Linked DNA regions of Homo sapiens: all the other regions are linked to region 1. The links are contacts of gene promoters, found by promoter capture Hi-C in blood cells and fetal thymus (Javierre and others, 2016). All regions are on one chromosome and are shown on one strand. The core of a region is centred on a gene start or on the middle of the fragment in contact, and the rest is flanking DNA. Distances in the headings are between cores, read along the strand shown.

The links. Contacts are between HindIII fragments. The CHiCAGO score rates a contact against its expected background, and 5 or more counts as called.
Region 2: a fragment that was not itself captured here is called in contact with the fragment with the promoter of ABRAXAS2 in region 1 in 13 of 17 cell types (non-activated CD4 T cells, naive CD8 T cells, naive CD4 T cells and 10 more); the score reaches 12.7 in non-activated CD4 T cells.
Region 3: a fragment that was not itself captured here is called in contact with the fragment with the promoter of ABRAXAS2 in region 1 in 9 of 17 cell types (naive CD4 T cells, non-activated CD4 T cells, total CD4 T cells and 6 more); the score reaches 7.7 in naive CD4 T cells.
Region 4: a fragment that was not itself captured here is called in contact with the fragment with the promoter of ABRAXAS2 in region 1 in 4 of 17 cell types (naive CD8 T cells, fetal thymus, non-activated CD4 T cells and 1 more); the score reaches 6.9 in naive CD8 T cells.
Region 5: a contact is called between a fragment that was not itself captured here and the fragment with the promoter of ABRAXAS2 in region 1, in 4 of 17 cell types (naive CD4 T cells, non-activated CD4 T cells, activated CD4 T cells and 1 more). The highest score is 7.0, in naive CD4 T cells.
Region 6: a contact is called between a fragment that was not itself captured here and the fragment with the promoter of ABRAXAS2 in region 1, in 1 of 17 cell types (erythroblasts). The highest score is 5.2, in erythroblasts.

The regions. Positions count from the first base shown.
Region 1 is chr10:124,800,006-124,804,468 of GRCh38, reverse strand. It overlaps ABRAXAS2 (abraxas 2, BRISC complex subunit), which reads right to left and starts at 2,650. Exons shown (of 9, transcript NM_032182.4): 1 at 2,568-2,650. The coding sequence starts at 2,639. RefSeq lists a silencer at 2,375-2,454 and enhancers at 1,943-2,496, 2,555-2,824, 2,497-3,051. The HindIII fragment of the contact is 5,454 bases long and covers 1-3,206 here.
Region 2 is chr10:124,551,491-124,555,953 of GRCh38, reverse strand. All of the region lies in intron 6 of LHPP (phospholysine phosphohistidine inorganic pyrophosphate phosphatase), which reads right to left. Among named protein-coding and RNA genes, the nearest start is that of LHPP, 92 kb to the right of the region's middle. The HindIII fragment of the contact is 9,226 bases long and covers 1-4,463 here.
Region 3 is chr10:124,568,900-124,573,362 of GRCh38, reverse strand. All of the region lies in intron 6 of LHPP (phospholysine phosphohistidine inorganic pyrophosphate phosphatase), which reads right to left. Among named protein-coding and RNA genes, the nearest start is that of LHPP, 110 kb to the right of the region's middle. The HindIII fragment of the contact is 4,091 bases long and covers 215-4,305 here.
Region 4 is chr10:124,585,390-124,589,852 of GRCh38, reverse strand. The region is part of intron 6 of LHPP (phospholysine phosphohistidine inorganic pyrophosphate phosphatase); the gene reads right to left. Among named protein-coding and RNA genes, the nearest start is that of FAM53B-AS1, 120 kb to the left of the region's middle. The HindIII fragment of the contact is 2,543 bases long and covers 520-3,062 here.
Region 5 is chr10:124,617,312-124,621,774 of GRCh38, reverse strand. It overlaps FAM53B (family with sequence similarity 53 member B), which reads left to right. Exons shown (of 5, transcript NM_014661.4): 5 at 1-2,483. Among named protein-coding and RNA genes, the nearest start is that of FAM53B-AS1, 84 kb to the left of the region's middle. RefSeq lists enhancers at 1-84, 1,437-1,566. The HindIII fragment of the contact is 641 bases long and covers 1,825-2,465 here.
Region 6 is chr10:124,972,634-124,977,096 of GRCh38, reverse strand. ZRANB1 (zinc finger RANBP2-type containing 1) reads right to left here. Exons shown (of 9, transcript NM_017580.3): 4 at 3,381-3,452; 5 at 2,699-2,897. Among named protein-coding and RNA genes, the nearest start is that of ZRANB1, 33 kb to the right of the region's middle. The HindIII fragment of the contact is 1,536 bases long and covers 2,446-3,981 here.

The DNA of each region.
Region 1 (4,463 bases), core at 1,401-3,900:
AGACTTAAGAACATAGCTAGATTCCTAGTATTCTACAGCACTGGGTTGCTGGATTTAGCAAAAGATACAAGACACACAATAAAATTTTAATTTCAGATAACAAATAATTATTTTGTAAGTTTTGGGATATACTTATACTATAAATAAATTGCTATTTATCTAAAATTCAAATTAACTGAGTGTGCTGTATTTCATCTGGTAACCCTACAACAGTCTTCCATTTGTGGAATAATGATATAACTCAACAGTGACATCAAGAAATTCTAGGTCAGATGCGGTGGGTCACGCCTGTAATCTCAACACTTTAAGAGGCCAAAAACGGAAGATCGCTTAAGGCCAGGAGTTTGAGATCAGCCTGGGCCACATAGCAAGACCTTGTCTGTAATTTTTTTTTTAAAAGGACATTCTAAAGCCAAGTACAAGTGGAATGTTTATACATCTACTGGTCTGGATTATCTGAGCCAATGTTCCTTTATAGTAGGAGTTGGCAAACTATGGCATGGGGACTAATTCCAGCCTAATGCTTATTAATGTACGGCCTGTAAGCTAAAAATGGTTTCTATGTTATTTTATTATTATTATTTTTGTAGCCCAGGCTGGAGTGCAATGGCGCGATCTCGACTCACCACAACCTTTGCCTCCCGGGTTCAAGCGATTTTCCTGCCTCAGCCTCCCTAGTAGCTGGGATTACAGGCATGTGCCACCACGCCTGGCTAATTTTATATTTTCAGTAGAGACGGGGTTTCTCCTTGTTGGTCAGGCTGGTCTTGAACTCCTGACCTCAGGTGATCTGCCCGCCTCAGCCTCCCAAAGTGCTGGGATTACAGGCATGAGCTACCGTGTCCAGCTAATAAGAGTCACTTGAATCTTTTATTGTCTATAGATGCTTTCTCCCAATAATAGCAGAGTTGAATAGTTGCTATAGAGACCATATGGCTTACAAAGCCTACAAAGTTTACTATCTGGCCCTGTACAGAAAAGTATGGTAGCCCCAGGTCTACAAATGAGTGGTTTTAAATTAATTTCTTGACTGGACAAAATAAGTATGTACTACAAAAGTAAATTGTTGGTTCTTCAACCTTAAAATTGAAATTATTTTCAAGGATTCCACATCTATAATTGTGGCAAAGTTAATATAAACAGGCATGGTCATATAAAACACAGTTGCAAACTATTGGCATTGGTGAAAATTTCTATGAAGTCAAGCACCACGCCTTGCAGAGTAGATATTAAGGGATATCTCTTGAATTAATTTTTTTCAACAGGTAGCTGCTTGTTCTTACAGTAATCTTGCCATATACATAAACTGTGATATTAGTAGGCATTCAAGAAATAAAGGACCCATTTTTAATAGTCCATGGACACTAGGGGTATCACAAACCCTTACATATGGAACTATATTACATTATTAAATAGCTGGTTGTAGTACCCTAGGCCATAGTCTTCAAAGCTGCTTCTGGAAAAACCCATGATGTATATATTCCTATTCCTATCATTAAGTTCTACCATCAACACTGAAGAGATGAAAGGTACAATAATTTAATTGCATTCAATTTACTAATGGAATCACCTCCCTGTGAAATCAGTTTTTATTAATGGAAGCTAAGATTGCTGACATCAAACCAAATGCAGTTCCTCCTTCTGCAGTGTACCATTTTGCTTTGTAATGACAACCAAAAACCCCACACATAGGTTTAATGAGTTTGAATCATTCACTATTAACATCACTTAAAATAATCCCCCAATTTGGTGGCCAAATTATATACCTCCTTTAAGAGAGAAGTGATCTAGTTTCACAAAGCATTTCCAATCAGAGGCCAATGACGTTAAAAGACAATTTGTAAAATAAAGACACTGAAACAGACAGGATCTGCTCCTCCTGTGGGCTCACAGCCTATGCATTTCCCATCACTCAGTAGTGGGCCTGTCACTTCCCTATTTCACTGTGACTAGTGAAAGAACTAGTCACAAAGAACTAAACACGCAACTTCAAGGAAATACAAAATAGACCCTGCACCGAACGCTCCTGTATACATTCTCCATTTTGCATCAGGGCGAAGAAAACACACAACCGTGTCTAACAAGTATCAGTAGTGACAGCCACGGTTTCACTCGCAGCACCCCCACGACAACCTGCGAGACCGGCGGGCGGGGCTGAGTACCTCGCCTACTGGACTAAACGCCCGGCCTTTAGATTCCTTCCCGACCCCGTGCGCCCCTCTTAAGTCTAGAAGCCTGACTTTCAGGGAGGGGCAGGCGCTCGGTTTCCACCGAGCGACTCCTGACACTGCAGGAGGCCAGGTGGGACAGTTTTGCTGCACGGGAGACGGCTGTGCCGGGACGGCCGAGCGGCTGAGAGCGCGAAGCCAGGGGGCCTGTCCCAGGGGCGAAGGAGCCCCCAGAGGCAAGAGCTCACCGGGGGCGGGAGCCGCCCGGGTCACCAGCTCCTCCGGCCGGCCCTGGTGCCCAGGGGGCGAGCCGCATGAGGTCCCGGCTTGGCCGCGAGCGCCGGCCTGAGACAGAGGCTGAAAGCCCCCAGCGGGCGCGGCAGGGGGCCCGGCACCTACGTGGTCCGCGTTGCTGTTGGCGCTGTGGAAACACACAGCACTGAAGGTGTAGCCCGAAATGGACGCCGCCATGATGGAAATCTCCAGCTACCCCATCATGCCCCGCGGAGGGCACACGGCCTTCCGGACGGCCCGACCCCTTGGCATCATGGGAAGTGGAGTCTGCGGCGGGCAGCGGCCGAGGGCCCTGAGCGCTCACAGTCTTGAAGGCTGAGGAACGCCGGTTTTTGCGATCGGAAGGACCCCGGCACCGTATCCTCCGCAGGGGTGTCGCTCCCGACACGCCTCAGACAGCGGTTGATAGTTCCGCAAACAGTTCTTTCCCTTTGCAAGTGAAACCTTAGTATTAAAAGACAACATTCTAGCCGGGCGCAGTGGCTCACGCCTGTAATCCCAGCACTTTGGGAGGCCGAGGCGGGCGGATCACCTGAGGTCAGGAGTTCGAGACCAGCCTGACCAACATGGAGAAACCCTGTCTATATTGAAAATACAAAAACTAGCCGGGCGTGGTGGCACATGCCTGTAATCTCAGCTACTCGGGAGGCTGAGGGAGGGGAATGGCTTGAACCCGGGAGGCGGAGGTTGCGGTGAGTCGAGATCGTGCCATTGCACTCCAGCCTGGGCAGCAAGAGCGAAGCTTCGTCTCAAAAAAAAAAAAAAAAAAAAAAAAAAAAGGCCAACATTTAGGCTGAGCGTGGTGGCTCGCGCCTGTAATCCCAGCACTTTGGGAGGCCGAGGTGGGCGGATCACGAGGTCAGGAGTTTGAGACCATCCTGGCTTACACGGTGAAACCCCGTCTCTACTAAAAATACAAAAAATTAGCCGGACGTGGTGGCGGGCTCCTGTAGTCCCAGCTACTCAGGAGGCTGAGGCAGGAGAATGGCGTGAACCTGGAAGGCGGAGCTTGCAGTGAGCCGAGATCGCGCCACTGCACTCCAGCCTGGGTGACAGACCAAGACTCCGTCTCAAAAACAAAACAAAACAAAAAGCCAACATTTGAGGCCGGGCGCGGTGGCTCATGCCTGTAATCCCAGCACTTTGGGAGGGGGGGGCGTGTGTGGGGAGTGTTAACCTGAGGTCAGGAGTGTTATGCGCGTTTGTGTGAAGAGACCACCAAACAGGCTTTGTGTGAGCAACAAGGCTGTTTATTTCAACTGGGTGCAGGCGGGCTGAGTCCGAAAAGAGAGTCAGCAAGGGAGATAGGGGTGGGGCCGATTTATAGGATTTGGGTAGGTAGTGGAAAATTACAGTCAAAGGGGGTTGTTCTCTGGTGGGAAGGGGCGGGGGTTACAAGGTGCTCAGTCGGGGAGCTTCTAAGCCAGGAGAAGGAATTTCACAAGGTAATGTCATCAGTTAAGGCAGGAACCGGTCATTTTCACTTCTTTTGTGATTCTTCAGTTACTTCAGGCCATCTGGATGTATACGTGCAGGCCACAGGGGATATGATGGCTTAGCTTGGGCTCAGAGGCCTGACAAGGAGTTCAAGACCAGCCTGGCCAACATGGTGAGACCCTGCCCACTCCCCTCTGCCCATCTCTATTGAAAATACAAAAACTAGCCGGGCATTCTGGTGCATGCCTGTAATCTCAGCTACTCAGGAGGCTGAGGCATGAGAATCGCTTGAACCCGGGAGACAGAGATTGCAGTGAGCCGAGATTGTGCCACTGCGCTCTGGCTCTGTCTCAAAGAAAAAAAAAAGGAAAAGAAAAAAGGCAACATTTACAAGCTCAAGGATGAAAGGATGGAGGAAATTCAGGCAAATAAACAGTTTGGTATAGTAGTGACATAATTTGATAACAGATAACACAATCACTTTGGCTGCAGAGTTGAGACTGTAGCGTCTTGGGGTGGGAGGGAAGTGAAACGGTGGTTCAAGTCACCATCATCTCTCTCTCT
Region 2 (4,463 bases), core at 554-3,053, 250 kb after region 1:
TACGTCCCAGCTGTGTGACCTCGGGCCAGTGACTTCATTCATCTGTAAGGGGGAATATGGCCTGAGGACTTGGGTGCAGGTTCAGCAAGGTAACATGTACAAACAGCTCGGGGCAGAACTGAGCCCAGAACAAGAGCTCAATAATGTCAGTGGTTTTATTATCAATAAGAAAAAATGCAAACTATTATATTGAATTTTTTTTTGAAAAATAAAGAGCCTAACAGTCAAGATAGACAAAGTACCTTAAAGCAACTAGAAAATCAGATAAAATATATGAAACAATGACATTCAGGCCCCGCACACCAGGCAGCGCAGGACTGTGGGCCTAGAAAGGAGGGACTCCAATAAGGCCAGCCCTACAGGTGCCCTCTGCAGAGCAAGGTCCCCCATGCTGACCTCACAGCTGGGGGACCCTTCCCAGGCTGTGGGAGGGTCCAGGGAGATCAGACGGGGACACAGGTTGGGTGGGTAGCACAGGGTGTACTGCAAAGCGCTGACACACCAGGACCCAGCCGGGCTTTGGACAAGTGGGGAGGGCCAGGCCCTGTAAGGCAGGGACCCTCCCTTCCTCCCTTCCTCCAGGGAGGAGCTGTGCCTTGTAGAGCCCCCATCTCACTCTAGGGTCTCCCAGACTACAGTGCTCACTCGCCCTGGCAAGGGTGCCTCCTGCAGGCCTGTGGCTGTGGTCCAGCCAGGAGTTCGCCCACCCTGCCTGTTCTCCACTACTGGGCTGAGGGAAACATTGACACACTCACCCCTCACCCATCCCCACTGGCCCACCCAGGAAGAGAGCAAAGGGGTCAGGGCCTCCACTCGGGAGGCAGAGAGCACAGTGGTGTTGAGAATGGCTGGCTTCAAATCCTGGCCCAGCTGCCCTCTCGCTGGACGTACTCAAACCAGTGATTCAGCCTCTCTGAGCCTCAGTTTCCTCACCCTAAAGTGAGACTAAAATGCCAGCCGCATAAAGCTGCTGTTGGCAATCAGTGAATTATGTCTGTGCAGTGTTTAGCCCAGAGGCTAAGAGCACACAGCAGGTGCTCAATAAATGACAGCCGCAATTATGAACAATCTCCTGTCCACATTTGCCTCATTCCTTCGTTAAAGAACCTAATTCTGTCTAGAAATATCTGCCAGAGTTGCAAAGTCTTTGGAAAGGCCCTAAGGCCCAGAGATGGAAAAAGTGTACAGAAATGATGATGGGGCAAAAGTGAGCCCTGGGACCCGCCAAGCTAACAGCCCACCCAGGAGTAAGCGAGGTGCAGACAGCCCACCTGGCCCCGCCCACCTGGCCCCTCCCACCTGGGCCCACCCCTTCAGCTCGTCTAGGGCTGTCAATGATAGAGATGACAAGGACAGCAGCAGCAGCATTAATGAAGCAGTGGCTCTGCACCGGGCACTAGGCTAAGCACTGCATGCACATTATTAAACTGCCATATCCCATTATAGAAACTGAGTCCAGGCCGGGTGTAGTGGCTCATGCCTGTAATCCCAGTATTTTGGAAGGCCAAGGCAGGAGGATCACTTGAGCCCAGTTCAAGACCAGCCTGGGCCACACAGGGAGACCCTGTCTCTGCAAGAATTTTAAAAACTAGCCGGTGTGGTGGTGCATGCCAGTAGTCCCACCTCAGGCATGCATCCTACCCAGGAGGCGGAGGTGGGAGGATCACTTGAGTCCAGAAGGTCAAGGCTGCAGTGAGCCATGATTGCACCACTGCACTCCAGCCTAGGTGACAGAGCAAGACCCTGTCAATAAATAAATAAAATGAATAAATGAATAAATACATAATAAACTGAGTCTTAGGTTGAAAAACCTCTACCTGGCCCAGGTCGTCCCAGCTGTAAATGTCAGAGCAGGAGCTGAATCCAGGCAGCCCAGGCTGACCACCGCCCCGCAACTACAGGCTCGAGGCCTTCTTCTATCTGCAGTGGAGTCTCTCGAAGAAGACTCACATGGAGCTGTCCACAGGAGCGCCCAGTTCCCAGAGCATGGTGCCGCAAGGACAACAGGGGGGCTCTGTCCCTCCTGGAGCAGGAAAAGAACAGATGCCAACAGCTTAGCCTGTGGTAAGACAGATGTGGTGGGCCCCTTACCTCCTTCTGCAGACAGAGGAGGGGCCTGGCCCGGGGGAGGTCTCTGTGCAGCTCCCAAGGTGACAATATCACCGGGAGTCATACAACATTCAAGAATGGCTGTAGGCCGGGCGTGGTGGCTCACGCCTGTAATCCCGGCACTTTGGGAGGCCGAGGCGGGCGGATCACAAGGTCAGGAGATCGAGACCATCCTGGCTAACACGGTGAAACCCTGTCTCTACTAAAAAATACAAAAAATTAGCCAGGCGTGGTGGCGGGCACCTGTAGTCCCAGCTACTCGGGAGGCTGAGGCAGGAGAATGGCGTGAACCCGGGAGGCGGAGCTTGCAGTGAGCTGAGATTGTGCCACGGCACTCCAGCCTGGGCGACAGAGCGAGACTCCGTCTCAAAAAAAAAAAAAAAAAAAAAAAAAAAGAATGGCTGTAATCCTGGCCCTATGGTGCCGCTGTTGGGATTTTCCTGGGGTTTCAGGGCAGTCCGAGCTCAGGTGCATCCTGGCTGCAGGTGCAGGGGGTGGGCAGGAGGAAAGCCCCATATGCTCCCCACATGAGAACCCCACTTGGGTTCTGTCCCAGCTCAGCATATGGATTTCTTGTTCTCTTTCTCCAAGTTCCCCTTTGTCAGGCTGAGTCTATTGAGCCAGAAAATCAGCCGTGTTCTGGGGATGGCCAAGTCACAGGGACCTGGCTTCCCATGGTGCTGCCACTCATCAGCTGGGTCCCTGATCAGAGTCCCTGGGTGCTAAAAGCAGGCACTGACTGCCCTCCCAACATCGAGGTCCCCAGAAGGCCCCCTTGTGCAGAATAAAGACACGCTAGGAGGCCGCGGAGCGCTGAGCGGCGCTCATTATCAGCTCGGAAGGCCAGCTTAAAGGATATTCCAGTAATTGCAAGGTTTTTGGTAAATGTTAATTACGGTTGCCTTAATTAGCTCCAAACCCATTGATCTATGGATTATATTAGGTTTATAAGTGTAATTACCTTAACAGCATATGGATTACAATTACGCTCCAATTAAACCCCAAACGTATAGCATATAAATTAGTAAAGGGATCGTCCTGATTGTCCAGGATAGGCTATTGAAATGTTGCCACTTTCAGGGCCTCATGCTGGGGCTGGTCCTTTGCAGGCGGGGACCTTGGGGAATTTGGAGGTAGGGGGTTCAAATGGTCTCTGGCAGCCACGCGTCCAGTCCATCTAGACCCGATTTAGAAATGACTACAGGGGCGGGGGCTGGCAGGCCCCAGCCTGGGGGGCAGTGGCTGGAGGATTAAGAGCTGTGCCTGCTCAGCTCGTCTTCTCTCAAAGAAATCAGGACACCCAACAGCCCATTAATGATGCCCCTCACTGCTCTCCCTCCAGGTAGAGATGGCTTTCTTGCCTTGTCTGGGGGAGGGGCAGGTGCTTCTTTAGACAGCTCCATGTGGATCTGCTGTGGGGGATTCCAGTATAGACAGGAGGCCTAGAGCCTGTATGTGAGAGAGGGGTGGGTGGTGGCAGGGTGGTGATCAGCCTGGGTTGCCTGGATTCAGGGCCTGCTCTGCCACTTACAGCTGGGATGACCTTGGTCAAGTAGTTTTTCAACCTAAGACTCCGTTTCCGTAATGGGGATCCGGTAATTTAAGAATGTACATAAAGTGCTTAGCAGAGTGCCTGGTGCACCATGGCTGCTGCTGCCATTAACATCATGAACTCACTTCCAGGGTGGGGAAAGGCTGGAGGGCAAGAGCGCAGGAGGGCAGGGGCAGCCTGGAGTGCCAGGCCCTGCCATTCTCCCAGCCCCTCTTCTGACAAGCAGGAATGGGGCACTGGGAAGTCCCACGAAGCCTGGAAGACAGACAGGTGACAGGTGGAGAAGGGGAGGGGATGGACGTGCCTGTGCTCAGTGGGGAGGCTGTGATGGGCCTGAGGGTCTCAGGGCCCTGGGCCTCAGCACGGTCCCTGGTGGAAAAGCACTGTAGGAAGCTGCCACCCGGGGGCCTGCGGACATCCTGCGTGCGCCTCCGTGGTGAGGTCAGGCTGGAGCGAGGTCAGAGGTGGCAGCCCTGCTCCCCAGGGAGCCTTGCCTGGTGCTCCCCAAGGCCGGCAGGTGGAGGGGAGGGTGCCCTGCATGAACTGCCCTCCCAGCTGTGGGTCTTCTTCCCGGGGGGCCGGCCAAGCCCGCGGGTCTCAGGGGCTGCAGCTCTTCTGCTCACCCTGGCTGAGGCCTCTCCCCATCCCAGGGACCCTGGCCCCTCCGCATGGTGGGGTCCTAAAGCTCTGGGTCTCCCACTCTGGGACCCCTGCTGAGGATGGCCTCCCACCACCTGACCCTTACCTCCCCACGCACCAGCCTCCACCCCGAGGGTCCTGTGATCTGGTGAGGGAAGTGTGG
Region 3 (4,463 bases), core at 1,011-3,510, 230 kb after region 1:
TGAATGACAGAGTAAGACCCCATCTCAAAAAGAAAAAAATCCAAATAAAGTCTGGTGTCTCATGAATAGTGTGGGTACCAATGTCAGTTTCTTGGTTGTAACAAATGTACCACAGATGTGTGAGGTGTTCACAGAGGAAACTGGATGAAGAGTGGATGAAAACATCCTAACTCCATAACTTTTCTGTACATATGAAATTATTCCAAAATAAGCTTATTTTTAAAACACAAACACGTTTATAAAAGAATGTTCACTGTGACACTGCTTAAGTAGCAAAAAACTAGAAGCAACATTATTTACCAGTCTGGGAATTGTGAGACACACAATGGCACAACTGCGTTACCCACACCACGCAGTTGAACGCGAGGCAACTCCATGCACACTGATACATGCCCTGAGTGCGTGGGTGTCGCCATTGAGGAACCAGGATTGGTGGAGCTGATATTCTGCTATGATCCCAGCAACGTACAGAGTATGTGTTTCTACACACGACAGGGACCACAGGACTGAGCTGGATGGGAGCAGCAGCGATGACCTCTGCCAAGTGCAGTGATGAAATGACGCCCATGGTCAAACCTCTGGATTTCTTTATTATGTGAACAGAGCCCTCCCCACCTCCCCTCTTCCTCCCTCCCTCCCTTCCTCCTTTCTCCCTCCCTCCCTTCCTTCCTCCCTCCCTTCCTTCTTTTTTTTCTTTTCTTTCCTTTCCTTTCTTACTTTCTTTCTTTTTTTGAGATGGAGTCTCGCTCTGTCGCCCAGGCTGGAGTGCAATGGCGTGATCTCGGTTTACTGCAACCTCCACCTCCTGGGTTCAAGCGATTCTCCTGCCTCAGCCTCCCGAGCAGCTGGGATTACAGGCACCCACCACCACGCCCAGCTAATGTTTGTATCTTTAGTATTGACAGGGTTTCAGCATATTGGCCAGGCTGGTCTCGAATTCCTGACCTCAAGTGGTCCACCCACCTCGGCCTCCCAAAGTGCTGGGATTACAGGCGTGAGCCACCGCACCTGGTCTCCTGAACAGAGTATTTTCTTTGCAGCATGTACACTTCTCGGTGCCAGTGACCGCCACCACTCCGTCGGTTACTGCAAAAGCCTCCTGAGCAGTCCCCCTGCTCTGCCCTCATCCCACTGTGACCTTCTCTCAAACAGCGGCCAGAGGGACCTTTTGAAACCTGAAGGCAGGTCATTGCTCTCTTCTGTGCAAGGCCCGTGATGGCCAGCCTGGCAGAAGAGAAGCAAAGCCTTCGGCAGGCCTGCCAGCCCTGGCCTCTCCCTGCCAATGCTTCCCCTACCCCTCCAGCCACCTGAGTGTCTTCCTCCAACACCCAAGGGGCTCTGCAGTGGCTGTTTCCTCACCTGGAATGTTCCTTCCCCAGAACTCGCATTAATCTCCCTTCCCCAACCCCTCACTCACCCCCCTAGGTCTTGGTTCAAATCTCATGGTTCAATGAGACCCACCTGAACCCACCTGTTTAATGACAGCCCTTCTCATCCTCTTACAGACAACCCAACTTCCTCATCCATCGCCATGTTGTCTATCTTCCTCTGCTAGCATGTGAGGCCACAGCAAAGGCCTGTGTCTCTGACTGATGATGCTTCCTGAGGACCAGCGTGGTGCTGGCAGGGTGGCCAGCCAGGGAACACGGTTAGGGAGCAAAAGACTCAGCAAAAAAACACAAAAAGTCTGTAGTATAAGAGGTCCATGATCTCATAAATGAACTGGACTGCATTACCAGAGTCACATTACTTAACCTTTCCATCTGAAACACGGGGGGCTCTGCCCTTTGCTGGTCCTCCTCCCAGGCACAGGGTCCACAGCTTTTAGGCAGTGCATCCTGGACACCTTGTGCAGGGCCATTCAGCCAAGCCCCTAAAGGTTCCCATTCAGCATGTTGTTTGGTAGGTAAATTTCCTGAACGGAAGTGAATAAATTTACTTTCTTCCTTACATATTCCTATCCAGTCTTTAAAAATGGCCGCTCGTTACTCAAAAAGTTAAACATGAATTACCACATGAGCCAGGAATTCCACAACTAGGTATATATCCAAGACAACTGGAAACGTGTCCACACAAAAACCTATACATTAGTGTTCACAGCACCACTATTCCCAATAGCCAAAAAGTGGAAGTGTATCAGTCCGTTTTCACACTGCTGATAAAGACATACCAGAGAGACTGGGCAGTTTACAAAAGAAAGAGGTTTAATGCACTTACAGTTCCACGTGACTGGGGAGGCCTCACCGTCACGGCAGAAGGTGAAAGGCATGTCTCACATGGCGGCAGACAAGAGAAGAGAGCGTGTGCAGGGCAACTCCGCTTTTTAAAACCATCTGATCTTGTGAGACTAATTCACTATCACCAGAACAGAACAACATGGGAAAGACCTGCCCCCGTGATTCAATTACCTCCCACAACACATGGGAATTCGAGACGAGATTTGGGTTGGGATGCAGCCAAACCATATCAGGAAGCAATCCAAATGTCCATCAGCTGATAACAGATCAACAAAATGTGGCCTATCCACATAGTGGAATATTACTCAGCCACAAAAAGAAGTGAAACTCTGATACACACCGTAACACAGATGAACGGTCAAGACATTAAGCAAAGTGAATGGAGTCAGACACAAAAGACCATGTATCGTCTGATTCCATTTACATGAAATGCCCAGAGCGGGCGAATCCACAGAGATTGAAAGAGGCTGGAGGCTGCTAGGGGCTGGGGGTGTGGGGAGTGGGAAGTCACTGCTAATGGGTACAGGGTTTCTCTTTGGAGTGACAGAATATTCTGGAATTAGAGGTGATAGTTGCACAGCATTGTGAATATATTAAAAACCTAAAGACCACTGAATTGTGTATTTTAAGAGGAATTGTATGGCATGTGAATATCTCAATTACAAAATTAAAAACCTGGCTGCTCATAGGGTCACACCTCTGATTTGGGGACAACCTCAGCTCACCGACTGTCCCCTTCATTCCAAAGGCCCCTGGGCCAGCCCAGTGCCCGACTCACATAGGCACTGGGTGAATTCTGGCTGCACTGAGCTAAACCAGAGGGACCCAAATTAAGAAGCTGTGCACAGGGCAGAGGGAGACAGTGAGTCCACTGGTGGCAGTGAGGGCCCAGAGGAGGGCTGTGACGGTCACTGTGGGTGCCATGGGGACAGAGAGGGGCTTTTCCTCCAGTCCCTCCTAAGAGTAATCCTGGAAGCTACCAAGGAGATTGAAGCCAGGGAGGGACTGGCCAGATCTGCCTGTTACCAATACATTTTAAACCTAAATTAATAGTCACAGTTTTTCCCAGTAGAAGGCCCTCCTCACCTGCTGTGGGCAAAAGAGGAAGTGGCCGGGTGAGCTCTACACTGCAAGTCAGGGCAGGGGTGACCTGGGGTCGGGGGGTCTGACTGGGAAGGGGCACGGGGAAACTTCTGGGTGCTGGAATGTTCTACATCTTGATCTGTGTGGGGGTTACACGGGTGTACGTGTGTGCAAAAATTCAAACTGTACACTTGATGTCCTTTCCTGGGTGTTATACCTCGATCAACATGTAGAAGAGAGAACAGAGACACCTTGCTTGTGACTGGTGACACTCATCAACCCCATCTCGGCTCCGCTGCCTTACAGGTCTGTTTCCCTTCACAGCCTTCATGGCATCTGTGATGGTGGAGGTGGCAGGTGACCATCTCTGTGGACACACATGTCCCTGAGATCCCCCAGCCCTGGTTCAGGGCCACAGAGTGCAGTAAGCCACTCGGCAAATCCTGGCCGAGTGAATGAGCTGCATGGGACAAAGGGTGTTTCCAGGCTGCCCTGCCCACCCTGCCCGCCACGTTCCCGTTTGCCTTTTCCATTTGCTTTGGAAACGCTGCCCTCCCAGCTCTGCCCTCAGACTTTCCGCGACAGAACTCAGCGCCTGGCCCAGGACAGCAGAGACAGCAGGCCCTGCAGCAATGCCTGGAAGAGACAGCAGCTCTGTAGGCTGTCCCGAGGGGCCACTGTGCGACACAGCCCGACAGACAACTGACGGGGTGAAAGGCCTCATTCCTACGTTTGCACAACCTCAAAAACCTGATCCAAAACTAGGGAGAGAAAAAAATCCCCACTTTTGCTAGAGCCTGGGCCTCCCAGTGGCCTGTCTCACAGTCTCAGGGCCACCTCAAGCCACAAGCAGCTCCCTCTGGGCAGAAGAAAGACAGCCATTCCTGATCCCGGGCCTTACCCGCAGGAATGAGCCCCACCCAGGCAGTGTGCATGTGGAGGGGGACAAGACCCCAGGGCACAGACCTGCCTTGGAAACAAAGCTTACCCCTCACCCCCATTACCAGCAGGTCCTGCAATGGCCACTCCAAGCCCGTGTCTTAATTGCCTAAAGCTGTGGGAGGGCGCTGGGAGCACGCTGGGAGCCGTGGGGGGGACAGAACATGCCAGTCGCCAGCACAAGCTCATTACAGACAAACCTAG
Region 4 (4,463 bases), core at 542-3,041, 210 kb after region 1:
GCTGGAGGACGGGGCTGCACGCAGGGGGCCTTCCAACCAGAGGGGCTGCGGCACCAGGGACCCTGCAGGCCTGAACGAGAGCCGACCTCACCCCCAGAGATGCGGGAAAGGCGGGTCCGTCCGGGGATAGACAAGAAAGGGTCTTGCTCGAGTCTCTAACACACAAGGAAGTCCCAGAGAACAGGAGTGAAGGAGGCCGATCTCAGATGGGTGATGAAAGCTGGGGCCGGGTGAGCTCTGCACACTGGGACCTGTGCACTGAGCCTGACCCCTGCTCTCGTGTCAACAGTCCTGCTCCTCCCGGCTCATTCTGCTGAGCCCCATGGCCACCTCCAGGACCTTCTCCTGGGTGGAATCCTGCCGTGGGTCTGCGAGATTGTGAACTACATCTAAGCAACTCCATGGCTGAGCCCATGCCAGCTTTTTAAAGCCAAGTTTTCATTTTCACAGAGAGGCCTTTGCCTTCCAGGTGGCTCAGAAGCCTGAATGATAACAGGGCTCCATCCAGCAGTGGAAGCTTTTGTGGTTGGAACAGATAAGGAATTAGGACCTGCGGTGCACACTGCAAGTGAGACAGAGGTCCCATGTATCAGGCTGCGAGCACGGCCACCGCCAAGGAGGTGCTATAAGCTCTGAGATGCCTTATGCAGGAAAAGGCTCCTGACATTTCTGCACGGACTGTCCCCAAGGCTGCCTGTAAACCTTGCAGCAGCAGGAACAGGTTCTGCTTGAGTCCCGGCAGAAGCATTGGTCCTTGAAGGTGACAGGCCTCCTTTCTCTGGGATGGTTCAAGGGAGGGGCACCATGAGATCATCTCGGAGCCCTCACAGCCGCGCTGCTGGGGAAAGCCTTGATTTATGGGCGCTCCACCAGGGCTATAAATAACCGCGCTGCACCGGCTGTGGCTGGTCAAGAAACTGACGTCTGGTTTTCCCTAACCTTTGCCCTTCCTTCCTCATTCCCAGGGCACTGTGCAACATGTGTGGAGGGTGGGCCAGTGCCCTCTCCAGGACCCCCTGGACCTGACTGTCAGAGGAGGGAGGGGACAAGGGAGGCCTTGGGGTAGGGCATGTCTCCCTTGGAAGGCAGTGTTGGGGGAGCAGTGTCCTCTGCAAGCTGCTGTCACCTCAGATTCTGAGGAGCCAGGATCCATCAATATGGATATTTTTTGCAGACATTTGTAAAAACCTCAGATTCTGAGGAGCCAGGATCCATCAATATGGATATTTTTTGCAGACATCTGTAAAAACTTGTATTGATTTCAAAATGAAAAAGCTGGGCCGGGCACTGTGGCTCACGCCTGTAATCCCAGCACTTTGGGCGGGCGGATCACTTGGGGTCAGGAGTTCAAGACTAGTCTGGTCAACATGGCGAAATTCCATCTCTACTAAAAATACAAAAATTAGCCGGGCATGGTGGCAGATGCCTGTAATCTCAGCTACTCAGGAGGCTGAGGCAGGAGAATCACTTGAACTGGAGAATGCAGTGAGCCAAGATTGTGCCACTGCACTCCAGCCTGGGCAACAGAGCAAGACTCAGTCTTAAAAAAAAAAAGAAGAGAAAAAAGTAAAAGCATAAGTGGCTGCTCCAGAAAGCAGTGCTTCTGGCCAGCTGGACCCAGGGCACCTTGGAGGGCAGCAGAGGTGGCAAGGCTGAGGGACGCGTGTTGTGCCTGTGGCCACCTCTGGGCCTGACACATGAAGCCCCCGGGCCTCAGCAAGTGTCTGTTCAGTGGGTCACGTTTTCTCAAACTTCTGCTCTCTGTACAGAACACCTGTGAATGTGGCCTGCCTGGAGAGGGGCAGTGGCAGTGGGGCTGTCCGTCAAAGCTGGTGGCCAGTGGAGGTGGGCAATGCCAGGGTGAGGCTGTGTTTATCACGGCCTTCAGCCCCAGCTCCACCGGGTGGGTCTGGGGTCCCCATCCTTACAGAGGCCGGCAGCCCTGTCCCCCAACCTGCATTCAGCACTCGGCCAGGGCCTCCACGTCCTCATCTGTGGGAGGCACGGGAGCTCCACTGCCACCCCTGAGACAGCCCAGCAAGCATTTCTTAGCCTTTTTCTTTTAAACTCAGGGTGGGTTTTTTTGGTTTTTTTTTTTTTTTTTTTTTTTTTTTAGATGGAGTCTGGCTGTGTCTCCCAGGCTGGAGTGCAGTGGCATGATCTTGGCTCACTGCAATCTCCACCTCCTAGGTTCCAGCGATTCTCCTGCCTCAGCCTCCCGAGTGGCTGGGATTACAGGAGTGTGCCACCATGCCTGGCTAATTTTTGTGTTTTTAGTAGAGACGGGGTTTCCCCGTGTTAGTCAGGCTGGCTCAAACTCTCGACCTCAGGTGATCCGCCCGTCTCGGCCTCCCAAAGTGCTGGGATTACAGACGTGAGCCACTGCGCCTGCCTCAGGGTGGATTTGGGCCACATTTGAAAATAAACAAGCAAAGACCATGAAGGTAGAAGTGGAGGGGACATGGCTTCCCCAGAGGAAATCAGCCATGGTAGGAATATTTACACCACAGAAAGTGGAGGCCGGGCGCGGTGGCTTATGCTTGCAATCCCAGCACTTTGGGAGGCTGAGGCGGGCGGATCACTTGAGGCCAGGAGTTCGAGACCAGCCTGGCCAACATGGCCAAACCCCATCTCTACTGAAAATACAAAAATAATTAGCCGGGTGTGGTGGCAGGTGCCTGTAATCCCAGCTACTCGGGAGGCTGAGGCAGGAGAATCGCTGGAACCCGGGAGACGGAGGTTTTACAATGAGTGAAGATTGTGCCGTTGCACTCTAGCCTGGGTGACGAGAGCAAAACACTGTCTCAAAAAAAAAAAAAAAAAAAAAAGTAGCAAGCACTACAAATTAGGGCTTCCCCCACACCAGCCAGAAGGGGTTGTTTGTTACCTTTAAAATCCCCCAAGTTCATCTCAGTTAAAAAAAAATCCATGAGATGATTTCTATGCACACATATATAAATAATTCTGTGTTCACAGGTCCATGGCAAGGCAATTTTCAAGACAATGACAATAAAACCTAATTACTCTTAATCCAGGGAAGGTCTGTTTAAATGAGCAAAGCTTTAACTGCATAATTTTTTTGCGTAATTAAAACTGATCGTACAAAGAGGAGGTCCACAGGAGAGTTGTGGTCCTTCTCGCCTCGGGGCCTCTGTGCAGGCCACTTCCTGCCCTGGAAAGTCGTCTCCTCTCGGTCCACCTTTCTTTCAAGCCTCAGCTCAAATCTCACTTCCCCTGTGGAGCCTCCCTGGACCTGCACAGACACTGCTGGCTGTCCCTTCATGAAACAAATTCCAAGCTCGGCACAGCACTGTGTCCCCAGGCCCCTTTCCATTCTGTGCTGAGTTTGTGTCTTCCCCACAAATCTGGGAGGTCCTTCAGGGCAGGGGCCTGGCTCACTCATATTTGTAACTGACCATAGTCCATGCTGGATCACATGTTGGGGCAGGGCTATTTCCCCCTCCCAACTCCAGAAGGAAGAGGACTAGGGAACAGTTCCCATCTTTCTCTGCACCGGCCCCACCCCTTGAGGTGACTAACCTCATTGGTCTTCACCCCTCCTTCTCCCCACCTCTCATTTAGACAGAAAGGTGACAATGTAGGGACGCAGGGATCCATCTACAATGTGGAACAGCTGCTAGGGTGGGTGTGGGAGGGGCACGGTCCTTCAGGGTTCACCTGCTTCACTACCTGGGACCTTCAGCATGTTAGCCTTGAACCAGCCTAAGAAAAATTTCCTACACAATGTTGTTTTAGAAACATATCTAGGCCGGGTGTAGTGTGGCTCACGCCTGTAATCCCAGCACTTTGGGAGGTCAAGGCAGGCAGACCACTTGAGTTCAGGAGTTTGAGACCAGCCTGGCCAACATGGAAAACCCCGCCTCTACTAAAAATATAAAAATTAGCTGGGTGTGGTGGCACACAGCTATAGTCCCAGCTACTCCGGAGGCTGAGGCAGGAGAATCACTTAAACCCAGGCGGCAGAGGTTGCAGTGAGCCAAGATTGTGCCACTGCACTCCAGCCTGGACAGAGCAAGACTCTATCTCCAAAAAAAGAAAACACACACATCTAGCCAGGCACAGTGACATACTCCTATGGTCCCTGCTGCTCGGTCCCTGCTTGCTGCTCGGGAGGCTGAGGCAGAAGGATTACTTGAGCCCAGGAGTTTGAGGTCAGCCTGAGCAACACAGCAAGGCTCCTTATCTTTTCTTTTTTTTCTTTTTCTTTTTTTTTTTTAGAGATAGAGTCTCGTTCTGTCGCCCAGACTGGAGTGTGATGGCGCGATCTCAGCTCACTGCAACCTCCATCTCCTGGGTTCAAGCAATTCTCCTGCCTCAGCCTCCTGAGTAGCTGGGACTACAGGCGCCAGCCACCATGCCTGGCTAATTTTTTGTATTTTAGTAGAGTCGGGGTTTCACTGTGTTGCCCAGGCTGGTCTCAAACTCCTGAACTCAGGCAATCT
Region 5 (4,463 bases), core at 896-3,395, 180 kb after region 1:
ACTTTGCTTTTGCTCGTCTTCATGGACGAGTGAACGCCTCGCTTCTGCAGGTTGAGTCCAGATGCTTCTCACCTTCTTTCTCCTCAAGAAAGATGCTTTTTGGGAAACGTTGTTTAAATCTTATTTTTTTACTACATCAAAAGGATGGTGGTTCAAGTTCCCAATATGTGGGTGGCACTTCTTAAAAATCAGCTTTAAGGAGCTGGCAGAAAGCCCCCAGCCCCACAGCCCTGAGAGATGGTGTTGCTAGCTCAGGTGGCTGACACATGGGGTATGCCGGGCACTGGGCAGGTCCCAGAGCCGGGGAACCAGCTCACCTCTGGTTGCTGTAGCTCCTGCCGGAGGCATGTCTACTTGTGATCCCGGACAGCCGAACCCAAGAGCTGGTGGCTCTGAGCAGACAGAGACATCTTGGCCTGTCCCTGCCTGGGGGTCATGGAGACCATGTCTTCTTAGAGCAAATGTGGAGGCGGCCAGGGCAGTTGTTGGGTGAATGTGGAGAGCACATGGCCATGTCTTGCCCCCGGAGTACCACTGGGCGTGGGGGGTCCTGGCACCACATGCCCGGTGTGGCCGAGGGCACACAGCCTCTATAGCAGGCCTTCCTGTGGAAGGCAGAGGCAGTGAGGGAGGTGGACGGTGCCAGCTGAGGCTGAGGCATGCAGCAGCCCCCAGCTACCTTTGCTTAGGGCTGGGGTGGGAGGCACATGGTGACAGGTATATGTCGTGGGACTGGGGTGTGGGTGACCTGCCCTCAAACCTTGCCTGCCACCTCCCCATTCAGGCCTGGTGGCAGGAAGGGACAAGCTGTGGAGCTGGCTGAGTCACAGCCACCTCCCCACCTCCCCGCAAGCTGGTCCCATCGACCAGCAAGCCCAGCCCCAGGGCGCTTAGGGAGAAATGACCCAGCCTCCTCAGACCCCGCCTGCCTGTCCTGTGCCCACCACGCAGCAGTCAGGGGAGAAAATGGTGGCTATCCCTTCTGCTTAGAGAAAGAAATGGCCTTTAGCTGGTTTCATGTTTGTGTTTTGACTGGAGGGAGTAGACCCTATCTATAAGGTGCCACCCCATCATCCAAGCTGCCACACTGCCCGGAGCAGCCTGTTCCTGCACTCCACCCTGCTGGCCCCAGGACTTCTGATCTCAGTCCTCTGGGAGGGAGGTTCGCCTAGGAGGTGCCCCCCACATTGGTGTCCCCATGGGCAGCAGGCAGACAGCTCACCCCCACCAGCATGATGGCCCCAGCTGGGGGCAGTGGCAGGAGCCTTACTTTTGTCACAGCCTTGCCCACAAACCCTGCCTCTGAGGGGAGACTGAGGAAGGGCAGAGCCAGAAGCAAGCCGTGCCAGGCCATCTGCCTGCTCATGGGGTCCTAAAGCGCGGGCTAAGCCTGCAGGAAAGCCGGGGCGGTGGGGGGGGCTTAGTGCCACATGCACCCCACTCATTCCAAAGCCACCAAACTGCCAGGGGCTGCCGTCCACCCGTGGGGCCCAGGGGCTGGGGCCACAGCCTTGCCATTTTCGTTGCCATACCCTCTTGCCTTACTCGCGGTGGAGGCCGGATTTGCACGGGCAGACGTGCACCTGGGCCCGTGGGGAGCTTGTTCTGACCAGACGTACAGATTTTCATTCTCAGAAAGCCTTACTTTTCAACCAAATTTTTGTAGCCAGTTTTGTGAATTTGTACACTGAAAGAAAATTTAAATAAAGGGGAAGTCCACATTAAAAAGAAAACAAAACAAACCCTAACTAACTTCCAAATGGGTCTCCTGGTGCGGGGGCGTGAGTGGCCGTGCCCTGGGTGTGCTGCCTGTCTGAGCAAGCTTCCCTAGCTGTGGAACCCCGGGCCCCCTGCTGCGGGCTCTGCCTTGGTGTCATGCCTGCTGCACCCCCGTTTCCACTGACGTGCCGTCTGTGGCTATGGGGGTGGTCACTGGAATGACGGTCACTCCAGACGTCAGCCGGCAGGGATGCAGCAGGCTGGCCGCGCACCGGGGCTCGGGCACCCTCTGGCCCCACACTGGCAATGATGCCACACCTTGCCATGTCCACGCTGTTGGTCAAACCCCTCTGTCATGCCTCTTTAAAGAGAAAAGAAGAGAAAGATTTTTTTTTTTTTTAATGGCAGACCGAAGTGGAGATCTTGTAGCCTAGATAGGATAGTCTGACCTTCTAGCATAGTCTTTTTGGCAAATGATTTGTGTTTTCAGTGTGTGGGGAAGCTGTCCTGGGGGCTGGGGCGACAGATAGCACATAGGCTGTTTCTGGGGCTGCAGGGGCTTCCCTGAGCTGGATGTTGTGGGTGTTGCCGTGCTTCAGGAAGTGTGGCGACCAGAAAGCGTAGACCCGGGGCCCAGGGTCTGCCCGCCCCTGCAGCCTGGCCTCCCCGCACAGGCTGTGGCTTGCACTCCAGCCGCTCTAGTCTCTCAGGAATTTGCTTGTTACTTGTACTGTGTAAATAAAGCTTCCTGGTTCAATACCCAAGTGCCTGGTGCCAGCTGTGTGGTTTCTGTTGGGTGTGGTGAACTGGCAGGTCCCCCCTGCTCACAGGAGCATTAGCTCTGGGCGCAGAGAGACCTAGACTGGACCCTTCTGTCCCCTCCAAGCCTCGGGGTCTGAATCGATAAAATGGGGCTAGCAGACATCACAGAGCTGTGGAGACGCCGGGGGACGGGGGAAGGCTGCCCATGGCCACAGCTGCATCATGGGGAGCCCTTCTAGGGCCAGGAGCCCCAGGACAGCAGTGGGGAGACACTCCTTGTGTCACTTGAGTTAGAAGCCATGGAGGAGTCTGCCCTTCCGAGCACAGCAGCTCAGCCTTCGACAGCGCTGGGAGGTGAGGCCACACAGCAGCGTGCGGAGATGGGCCCAGCCTGGCCTGCAGCCCTGAGGGGCCTGGGATGGCCCCCACCACCCACCCACCAGGGTAGCTGAGGTGGCACAGACAGGCTCACTGGCTCCGGGTTTCTGCCCCCGCTGCAGGCAGCACAGTGCAGACTTCTGCTGCGTGAGTGAGTTGCGGGGGCCCCAGAAGCACGAAGCCCAGCCCGGCGTGGCCCACTGTCTCCCGTGCATGGCCCTCTGCTTACCCGGACTCAGGAGAAGGGCGTGTTTGCGGCCTGGAGGACAGGCGTGGAGAGGTTTGCTTGATTTCCATAACTCAACACTTGCCCACACAATCTGCCCATGGAAGTCTGGCCTAGAATGCTTGTTAGGGCCAGAGCAGCCCCTCTGGGAATGAGGCTCTGTAGCCCCCGCTTTTCTTTTGGTTTTTGCTTTTAGCAAGATTTTTTTTTTTTAAGTCTATGAGCACTGAACTCAAGAAACAAACATGTGAAGTGGGGCTGCTGGGGGGAGGTGAGCCCCTTGTCCTCACTGCCATCCCTGCAGCCCTGCCTTACCCAAGGCCTAGGGACTCACTGATTCGAGGCTGGATGCATTGACTTCCCCAGCACACCCTCCCCTCACCCCTGCCTCCGTATCTGACAGATGACTGGTGGGCCAGGGGCTGGCGGGGGGCTTCTACCCAGCGCAGTGCCCCCACCCTTGTGCCCCACCTGAGGGTAGGGCACAGAGTGGCCCTGGAATTACCTCTGGCCCTTACCAGCCCCTTGCTGCCCCCAATCCCTAGATGAGGTCCCTGGCTGGATGGATAGCTCCGTTCTGCCCCCACGTGGGGCCTGGCCCCAGGCCTCACCCCCAGTGCAGTGCCCAGGCCAGGCACAGGTGCTTCTGACATGGGGCACACGTGTAGTCTCCTTACCTGCACAGCGATCATAACCCTGTGGGCTTACGAGAGAGACTCAGCCACTCTGTCCAGTGTGCAGGGAAAGGGCTGGAAGGAAGAAGGCCGAAAGGAAAGGCCCCAGAGAGCACAGTGCTCAGACTCCCGGGTGACTTCTGGTTTCTTTTTATATACTTCTGTTAAATTTCCTGTAATAACACATGCTGCTTTTATAATGTTAAAAAAACCACGTAGAATGTAGGCTGCCCCGTGTGTTCACCTCCTAAACCAGGACAGTTCTGAGGGGCAGCTGGAACTGTTGACACGCACTCTGGCACGGGAGGCGGACCCAAGAGCACCCACCCCAGAGGGGCACCACACTCGCCCGTCCCGCCCTGTGTCCCCACCTCTGCCCTGAGGTGAACACAGGAGGCTTTCCACCTGCCAGCTGCCAGCCAACCTCCCCGAGAGGGGCAGGAACCGACCAGCAGGACAGACCCACCCAGGACAGCGGCACCAGGTCAGGCCTCAGCCTTTCCGATCCTCTGGAGGGCTCAAGCCGAACGGAAGGAGGGAAGAACTGCAGTCACCTGGGCCGGTGGCGCTCACATCTGACGTGGAGGCCTCTGCTTCACTTGGCCCAGTTCCCAGCCTTGTCGGCAGTGAGGACATGGACCCTCGCTGGCATCCGTCCTCCGTCTGGCACAACGTGCCGTGTTCTCTCTGGTTAGGGTTTGGGT
Region 6 (4,463 bases), core at 1,964-4,463, 170 kb before region 1:
CATAGGAAGCTGAGGTGGGAGGATCACCTGAGCCCAAGAAAGTGAAGGATGCAGTGAGCCAAGATCGTGCCCCTGCATTTCAGCCTGGGTGACAGAGCAAGACCCTTTCTCAAAAAACAAACACCACCACCAAAAACCCTCATCACTAAAAAAAAGACATCACTTCTAAAATCCACAGTGTACTTTTGGCCTTTCAACAGATCAGGAAATTACCACCAAAGAAAAGGCCAGGCGCGGTGGCTCACGCCTGTAATCCTAGCACTTTGGGAGGTCGAGGTGGGCGGACTGCCTGAGCTCAGGAGTTCGAGACCAGCCTGGGCAACATGGTGAAACCCCATCTCTACTAAAAATACAAAAAATTAGCCAGGTATGGTGGCGCCACCTGTAATCCCAGCTACTTCGAAGGCTGAGGCACGAGAATTGCTTGAACCCGGGAGGCAGAGGTTGCAGTGAGCCGAGATCATGCCACTGCACTCCAGCCTGGGCGACAGAGTAAGACTCTGCCTCAAAAAAAAAAAAAAAAAAAAAAAAGGAAATTACCACCAAAGAAAAGATTACTGGCTGCCTTTTTAGAGAGAACCTGCAAAGTGGTAGATTTACCACAGTTCAAACCTGGCTTTCCATCTTACAGGGCAGAGTGACATTAACCAAAACTACAAGGCAGACCTGTGAAACCACAATGCCAAGAACCCACTGTCTTAGGAACCAAACCAGGTTCATCCTCTTGACATAGACAGGCCCATAGCAGTGGTCAAGAAAATCAGCAGTAGGAAGCTAAGAAAATCAGCAACAGGAAGCTGCTTGGTGACCACAGGATCTGATCAAGAGGGCCAGACCGGCAGAGCACTGACCAGCATCAGGCTTACCCAGCCCGATGAACCTACTTCATACTACCAGACAGCCATCTCCACTAAGAGGCACAAAAGAGCCCTCTCTCCAGGACAATTACTAATTGACTAAAACTACCGGAGTGACACATTCATTCTTTAGCTTTATTATACATCCAGTCAGGTCATCCAGGAAGTTATTTTATTTCTCTAATGTGCCCACAAATTGTTACTCTATTACGTTATGCTTCCCCCTCCGCTCCCCACAAGACAGTCTCACTCTGTCACCCAGGCTGGAGTGCTGTGGCACGATCTTGGCTCGCTGCAACCTCCTCTTCCTCCTGGATTTAAGCAATTCTCGTGCCTCAGCTTCCTGAATAGCTGGGATTATAGGCATGCACCACCACACCTGGCTAATTTTTGTATTTTTAGTAGAGACAGGGTTTCAACAAGTTGGCCAGGCTGGTCTTGAACTCCTGGCCTCAAATGATCTGCCTGCCTCAGCCTCCCAAAGCAATAGGATTGCAGGCATGAGCCACAAACCCCAGCCATACTGCATTATGCTTTGATCTACAATTTAGCTCTCAAGAAAGTAATTTATAGGCCGGGCACGGTGGCTCATGCCTGTAATAACTAAATGAGATAATGTTCAAAGAACCAAAAAAATACCACATAAGTCAAACAAATGTAAAGACTGAACTATTCATTCACAAAAACAATTATTTTTCCAGTGATTGCATGCTGTTAAAAAATATATATATAAAGAACACTTTGATACAATTGAAGAAATGTGATTATGAACTGTTAGATAACAGAATCAATGTTGAATTACTTAGATGTAGGAATGGGGATGTGGGTGAGTAGGACAATATTCTTATTCTGGAAAGATGTATGTTGATATTTTGAAGGGTAAAGCATCATGATGTCTACAACGAATTGACCCACGAGTCTTTCTGTATGGAGACATGGAGCAGGTGTGGCAAAATGTTAATAACTGCTCAACTGAATGAAGAAAATACCAGGATCTATTGCACTGAATTTTTTTAAAATTATTCCATGGGTTTGAAAATTTGCAAAATAAAAAATGTGATCTTAAGACTCCCTCAGGAAGGAAAAAAACTTGTAACACAATGTCAAGATAACCTCTTATGTGAACACAAATATTCAATAAGGCTGGGTGCGGCAGCTCAGGCCTGTCATCCAAGCACTTTGGGGGCCCCAGGCAGGCGGATCGCTTGAGATCAGGATTATCAAAGCCACCCTGGGAAAGATGGCAAAACTCCATCTCTACCAAAAATACATAAAACAGCCAGGCATGGTGATGAGCACCTGTAGTTCTAGCTACTCAGGAGGCTGAGGTGGATGGATGGCTTGAGCCCAGGAGGTGGAGGATGCAGTGGGCCAAGACTGCACCACTGCACTCCAGCACAGCAATTGAGCCAGACCCTGCTTCCATCGATGGATCAATCAATCAATCAGTCAATCAATCCCTAAAAAGATGAGCAACGGCCTTATCAATATTTAAGGCTACTATATATAACTTGAAATGCTGCATTTGAAATGTTCAAATATACTGCCTGTGTCTTATAGAAACAATAAATGCTTGCATTTTAAAGCTTCAAATGTTTCTATTTTAAAATTTAGCAAAAAAATGTATAAAAACCATTGATTCTTGCTTTTATCTCATTTCTTGGGGGAAAAACAAAAACAGAAACCATGGACGTGTTCAAAGTATTTTAATGTCCAAAATGAACTGTTTTTCCTCCAGTTTCCATAGAAAATATAACTGACATAAAAAGTATCCCACCACTACAAGGAAATAATCCAGCAAATGCACTCCTGGGTTGAAACAGGGCAGAATGCCAGCTCACCAATGTGAACAGTCATGCAGGCTGTCATGCAGGGCTTTCCGAAGCACTGAGTCCTTGTCATAGATGCCCCAGGTAGCTTGTAGAACTGAATCAAGTAGGCAGTCTCCTGCAGTCCGGTTCCAAAGTGCATACAGTCGACTGTCCAAACGTGTAGCCAATTCCAAGGACCAGTTAATAATTGGAGATTCTTCTTCTAATTCTGTACGATGGATTTAAATACATGTTCATTTCCATACCTATGTCATTAGAGAATACTCATGGGGAGAAGAACCTATTTTCTAGCTATAAAATGGTTTATATGTAATTTACCAATAAACACCTAAATAAAATTGACCAATTGAAATATAAACTTTTGAGTACTTGAAACATCTTCTGTCTCTAGAATAATTTAATAAACTTTTAAATTCTTTACAGTTTTATTTTCTAAAAAGTGTTTCATATAGAAATATATACATTCTGGAACAGGAAGCGGAGAACCAAGGTTTTAAAATTTTTGTATCTTTATTTGTTCACTCTGTAACAGTGAACCATACAATATAACACTGAACTTCAGGACTTTACGTCTTTAATTTAAAATAAAAATAAAGCAAGTTGACTACACACCAAACTACACCATGCCTTACTAAACAAAACTTACTTGATCAGATGAAAGGTAAATTATACTCATTAATTCCATGCTTACCTTTTTGAACGTCTCTATCAAGCACCTCATCAAATAATTTTTCTTGGACTGTTGGGGGCAAATCTTCAATATCTACAAAGAAAATGCAAACTTAAAAGATCTTTTGTTTCATAACTTACACTTAACTTATACTTAATTACACTTATTAATTACCTACTAGTAACTTTCTCTAAAATAACTCCCTTTCCATTGAAGGTTATCAGATAGCTTTTTCTTAATATACCAGTGTAACATGTGTGATATAAAATATTTCTTTTCTGGGCCGGGTGCAATGGCTCACGCCTATAATTCCAGCACTTTGGGAGGCTGAGGCCAGCATACTGCTTGAACTCAGGATTCTGAGCCCAGCCTGGGCAACACGGCAAAACCCTGTCTCTATACAAAAAATATACAAAAATTAATCAGACAAGGCAGCAGACACCTGTGTCCCAGCTACTCAGGAGGCTACGGTGAGAGAACTGTTTGAGCCTGGGGAGGCCAAGGCTGCAATGAGCCGTGATCCTGCCACCGCACTCCAGCCTAGGCGATAGAGTAAGACCCTGTCTCAAAAAATAAAAATAAAAAATAAATTTTTAAAAATCTAATCATTCTGGGGTAAGCTTAAATACTCAGAACAAGTGCATTTCAAATGAAACTTCCTCCAGTTTCAGAAAACTTAGTTACTATCTCCTACAATTTGTAAAAATCCGTTTGTCTGAACATAAAAATTAAAAACACTGAGATCTAGCCTGAGTAATACTGCGAGACTCCATCTCTACAAAAAAATTAAAAATTAGCCAGGGGTGGGTGGCATGTGCCTATAGTCCTAGCTACTCAGGAGGTCAAGGCAGGAGATCACTTGAGCCCAGAAGTTGAAGGCGCAGTAAGCTATGATCACGCCCATTGCACTCTAGCCTGGGCAACAGAGCAAGACCCCGTTTCAATCTAAAAAAAAAAAAAACAGCAACAAAACAAACAGATCTCAGAATCTCAGATGAAAGATTTTAGAAACGTTTGGTGTTTGGTGTATTTATTCAATGCCAACTGACAAAACGCATTCTGGAGGATGTTTTCAACTGTCAATGAATTGAAAAATGAAAAGTT